Regions from separate parts of the Homo sapiens genome. Here region 1 is linked to region 2. Evidence: promoter capture Hi-C in 16 types of primary human blood cells and fetal thymus (Javierre and others, 2016). All regions are on one chromosome and are shown on one strand. The core of a region is centred on a gene start or on the middle of the fragment in contact, and the rest is flanking DNA. Distances in the headings are between cores, read along the strand shown. Region 1 overlaps CBL (Cbl proto-oncogene). Region 2 holds the start of HMBS (hydroxymethylbilane synthase).

Evidence for each region. Contacts are between HindIII fragments. The CHiCAGO score rates a contact against its expected background, and 5 or more counts as called.
Region 1: a contact is called between a fragment that was not itself captured here and the fragment with the promoter of HMBS in region 2, in 2 of 17 cell types (total CD4 T cells and M1 macrophages). The highest score is 7.9, in total CD4 T cells.

What each region holds. Positions count from the first base shown.
Region 1 is chr11:119,306,532-119,309,231 of GRCh38, reverse strand. It overlaps CBL (Cbl proto-oncogene), which reads right to left. Exons shown (of 16, transcript NM_005188.4): 16 at 1,083-2,700. It overlaps MCAM (melanoma cell adhesion molecule), which reads left to right. Exons shown (of 16, transcript NM_006500.3): 16 at 1-703. Among named protein-coding and RNA genes, the nearest start is that of MIR6756, 5.1 kb to the left of the region's middle. RefSeq lists an enhancer at 1,999-2,700. The HindIII fragment of the contact is 1,328 bases long and covers 689-2,016 here.
Region 2 is chr11:119,083,575-119,086,274 of GRCh38, reverse strand. HMBS (hydroxymethylbilane synthase) reads right to left here and starts at 1,394. Exons shown (of 14, transcript NM_000190.4): 1 at 1,209-1,394. The coding sequence starts at 1,241. RefSeq lists enhancers at 1,117-1,166, 1,096-1,793. The HindIII fragment of the contact is 13,649 bases long and covers 1-2,700 here.

The sequences.
Region 1 (2,700 bases), core at 103-2,602, 220 kb before region 2:
TGGGAGGCCGAGGCGGGCGGATCACAAAGTCAGGACGAGACCATCCTGGCTAACACGGTGAAACCCTGTCTCTACTAAAAATACAAAAAAAAATTAGCTAGGCGTAGTGGTTGGCACCTATAGTCCCAGCTACTCGGAAGGCTGAAGCAGGAGAATGGTATGAATCCAGGAGGTGGAGCTTGCAGTGAGCCGAGACCGTGCCACTGCACTCCAGCCTGGGCAACACAGCGAGACTCCGTCTCGAGGAAAAAAAAAGAAAAGATACGTGCCTGCGGTGAGGAAGCTGGGCGCTGTTTTCGAGTTCAGGTGAATTAGCCTCAATCCCCCGTGTTCACTTGGCTCCCATAGCCCTCTTGATGGATCACGTAAAACTGAAAGGCAGCGGGGAGCAGACAAAGATGAGGTCTACACTGTCCTTCATGGGGATTAAAGCTATGGTTATATTAGCACCAAACTTCTACAAACCAAGCTCAGGGCCCCAACCCTAGAAGGGCCCAAATGAGAGAATGGTACTTAGGGATGGAAAACGGGCCTGGCTAGAGCTTCGGGTGTGTGTGTCTGTCTGTGTGTATGCATACATATGTGTGTATATATGGTTTTGTCAGGTGTGTAAATTTGCAAATTGTTTCCTTTATATATGTATGTATATATATATATGAAAATATATATATATATGAAAAATAAAGCTTAATTGTCCCAGAAATCATACATTGCTTTTTATTCATCATGGGTACCACAGGAACCTGGGGGCCTGTGAAACTACAACCAAAAGGCACACAAAACCGTTTCCAGTTGGCAGCAGAGATCAGGGGTTACCTCTGCTTCTGAGCAAATGGCTCAAGTTCTACCAGAGCAGACAGTCACCCTACTTTTCAGCAGCAAAACTGCCCTGATGACGCAGCACGAAGGGCCTGGCAGGCTGTTAGCAGGAGCTATGTCCCCTTCCTATGCTTTCCTGCCACTTGGAACTGCCCTCCAGACAGCAGCTCAGGCTCACCGCCATGAGGAAGGGGGCCTTGGCATTTGGTCCTACGGCAACTCGAGTATTGCCTCCCAACCCCCTGAATGAGCAAGAACTCAAGTCTGCTACAACAAAAGAAACTTTATTTAAAAATATTTTTTTACAGACATGGGTGCTTGAAAAAGCTCTTTAGTTAACTAACTGTGTATGGAAATGAAAAAAAATTAATAAATAACATTAGTAAAACAGACTTCTAAACATTAATACACTGGCAAAATAAAATGGACTTAAAATGAAAATGAATCTTAAAGCTCTGCTATTCTCTGTAAGAATATTTACCTTCTGTTTTTCTTATTCTTTACAGGTGAGAATGATTAAATACTGCTAATATAAATTTTTTATATTAATGACACATTTTTAAAATAGTCCACGAAAATCTCACCTATGTGTTTGTTTTGTTTTCTTCTTAACACTGATATACAAATTGGGACTCTTCATTCTGGAGAAAGCATCAGGTTCTCTCCAGCACTCCCAGGCTAAGAATTTCAAAATCTTGAATAAGGAGGACTTTAAAATTTCTGTCTCCCAATTCTTTATTAGTTAAAGGCAGGGGAAAACTGAGGAAAGGGTAAAAGATAAGTAAGATGTCATTATATAGAAAAACTTTTGCTAAAGCTCACTATAGTCACATTACTGAGGACAGGCTTCTGGTCCCATGTTCCTTGCTGCCCTTCCCTGGGGAAACCAGGCCCTGCAGAGGGCACTAGCTGCTTAATGCTTTAAGTCTGAAGCCTTCAAATGAAAGGCCAGCCACATCTGATGGGGGCTGGGGGGTGGGGGCAGGAGGTCTAGACCAGTTCAGGATCCAGCAAAAAGAAAAGACAAAGCCACCAACCTCCCCTTCTCAGGAGAGTCCATCCTATACTCCTCGACACAACTAGGTAATTAATGTCATCAGAAGGCTAGGACACTTGGAATGGTCCAGAGTTTACCTGGGAATTGTGAAACATTCTGTCTTTTGCAGGAGACAAGGCATGCAACCTGATAACTAAGCTTGTGATTGGAACCAACCAAATGATCCCAGGGTACAATGCTTCTCTCCTCCACTGAAGTCTCACAGCAGGGGAAAGGGACTCCAGACACACTGCACCTGCATGTCACCTCTCCAGTCACAGAGAGCATTCTTTCCTGTCTCCTAGACACTAAGGACTAATGAAACTCAAGGTAGAGGAGCTCAGACTCTGGTATTTCCATATTAAGTCCTAAAATGCAGCCTGGGATACAGTGCTGCCTTAGAAAGGCACAAAACATTTGGCTTTTTTTTTTTTTCAGTGTGCTAAAAATTGTTTTGTTTTGAGTAAAGGAAAAAGATATATAAGGTTAAAAATCCCAAGTCACCACAGCCAGAAAACAGACGTAGGAGGTGCCTCATAGCTGCCATGCCCCTACCACATGTGTCAGCAGGAAGTCAGGCTTTTCTTTCAAGGCCAAGACACTAGAACAGTGCTGAGCAGGGTAGGTCAGGAGGCATTTACTCTCATGGGCATTGCGTTGCAGGCTCACTCACCCAGACAGCAGGAGAAACAGGCCATGGAAGACAACACGTGGTCTACAGACTCATAAGTAGTTCTCTGCCTCTCCAGTTTTAAGATGGCCATAAGCATGGCCACCCTCACCCACAAGAAGGTCAGAGGTAGGTAGAGAGGAGGGAGCTGACACACAGGCACCCAGGACACCCT
Region 2 (2,700 bases), core at 145-2,644:
GGTGACAGCTTTCTGCCCTCAGACTCTGGTCTACTCCATGTGATCACTCCAATAAATTAACCCTGGGAGACCCTTTGCAAATTAGGCTAGGCTTGATATTAAACGTGGCCACCAAAATTCTGGGCCACAGGGAGCCCACAGAAAGGACTCTAAGGTCCCAGAACTACTAGGTTCAAACAATTCCTTAAGTTCATTGAATGTGCACAGCATATCCAAGTCAAACCGTTTCATTAAAAAATAAAACACTGAGCACTTCTATGTTGAAGCTATTGCTTTTGCATATTGTTGTCGTCTCAAAAATCCTATCAGGTGGACAAGACAGGCACCTTTGGGACCATGTTACAGAAGCAACGGGTGGCATCAAGGGATGAGGTGACTTGCCTAGGGTCACAGAGCTAATAACCGAAAGAGAGTTGGGGCCACAATTCAGATCTTCCTACTCCTAGTCCAGGGCTCTGGAATGACTGCAAGAGCAAAGATCCCAGCCCTCACCAACAGGCTGGACAGGGGGAGATTAGCAGCTCCCCATCTCTTTCTTATCTCGGCCTGGCAGTGGCCTCCACCAGCTCTGCAGTTTGTCTGTGCACAAGCCCAGGGCTCGGCAAGCAGGCTCGTAATGGAAAGGCCCACGGCGGCCTCCCACCCACGGTAGTAATTCAGTAGGTGTGTCACAGCTGGGGACTTGGAGCGTTGGCTGTGGCTGGGAGACCACTATAACACAAAAAGAAGGCGCACTTCTAAGACGTTTGTGTGCAGTTCGGAGGCTTGGCTGATACTCTCTCCTATGAATCAAAAGTGGAACGTGTCTTCCCAAAGGGGCCGTATCTGCATCCGCCTCAGCCCAGCCTCGAATGAAAGGACCCCGTCTGTGTAGACGAACGTTCTTGGTCTGGGTCACTAAATCTAGAGCCGTGCATCCCAGGCCTGATGGGAATCCCACCCAGATGCCCGCAGGGACCGGAGTTCCGTTCCAAACAATCCTTCCACTCTTAACCCAGTATCACCGCTCTCTGATTTCCCCATTCCTTCCGGAGGGCAACCGAGCTACTGGCCCTTTAAAAGCTACTCGGACCAAAAAAAAAAAAAAAAAAAAAAAAAAAAAGATAGCCGTTCTGACCAATAGACGACTGAGGATGGCAACCTGGGGCCAATCGCTGCACGGCTCGTCCAGAAGCCCAAAGTGTGCTGGTCACCGGCTCAGCACTCACCGCCGTTGCAGCCGCATTGCCGTTACCAGACATGGCTCCGCTTGGAAAGTAGGCTGTGTGTGGGTGCCGCTAAGGTCCCCCGGCCCCGGGAAGCCGGGGGCTCCGGCCGGCGAGTACCGGGGACACGTGGGACCCGAGGTCGTCCTACAGTCTGACTCCTGGTCTCCGCAGAGCCTCGCGTCACTTCCGGCGCCCTCCCTCGAAGGGGAGGTCCCTCCCTCTGGGCGGGAATTGGAACATTGCGACAGTGGACCTCCCCATTCGACCACCCCATTCCCCAGCTGTGACATGAGCAAGTAGTGCAGCTTCTATGGCGCTTCCTTTGCTCTGTTCAAACTTAGCTTTGCTACAACCTTGAAATAGGCAGCATTTTTCTTTTTGATACGGGGTCTCACTGTGTCCCCAGACTAGAGTGCAGCGGCATGACCACGGGTCACTGCAGCCTTGACCTCCCGGCTTCAGCGATCCCCCCACCTCAGCCTCCCAAGCAGCTGGGACTACAGGCGCACATCACCACGTGGGACTAATTTCTAGATTTTTTTATAGAGACAGCGGGGAGGTGGCCTCACTATGTTGCCCAGGCTAGTCTCGAACTCCTGGACTCAAGCAGTCATCTCGCCTTGGCCTCCCAAAGTGCTGGGATTACAGGCGTGAGCCACTGGCCCAGCCAGCATTTCAATTCTTAAAATGAGGAAACTGGTTCAGAGAGATTAAAGGTCATGCCTAAAGACAAGTAACTGAAGTGGGAGCACAAACGCTACATGTAGTGAGAAAAGGGCTTGTTAGGAAAAGTGCTTTCCCATGAACATAATTTTTTTTTTTTTTTTGAGACGGAGTTTCGCTCTTGTTGCCCAGGCTGGAATGCAATGGCACGATCTCAGCTCACTGCAACCTCCGCCTCCCGGGTTCAAGCAATTCTCCTGCCTCAGCCCCCCGAGTAGCTGGGATTACAGGCACGCACCACCACACCCAGCTAATTTTGTATTTTTGGTAGAGATGAGGTTTCTCCATGTTAGTCAGGCAGGTCTTGAACTCCTGACCTCAGGTGATTCGCCCACCTCGGCCTCCCAAAGTGCTGGGAGTACAGGCGTGAGCCACCGCGCCTGTAATCATGAACATAATTAACAATCATGATTATTAATAATCACCCAGCTAGGTGCAGTGGCTCACACCTATATTCCCAGCACTTTAGGAAGCCAAGGCAGGAGGATTGCTTGAGCCCAGGAGTTTGAGACCACCCTGGGCAACATGGTGAAAACCTCATCTCCACAAAAAATACAAAAATAGCCAGGTGTGGCGGCACACACCTGTAGTCCCAGCTATTCAGGAGGCTGAGGTGTGAGGATCGCTTGAGCCCAGGAGGTCGAGGTAGCTGTGAGCTGTGGTGGTGCCACTGCACTCTAGCCTGGATGACAGAGTGAGACGCCCATTTTTTTTTTTTTTTTTTTTTGAGATGGAGTTTCACTCTTGTTGCCCAGGCTGGAGTGCAATG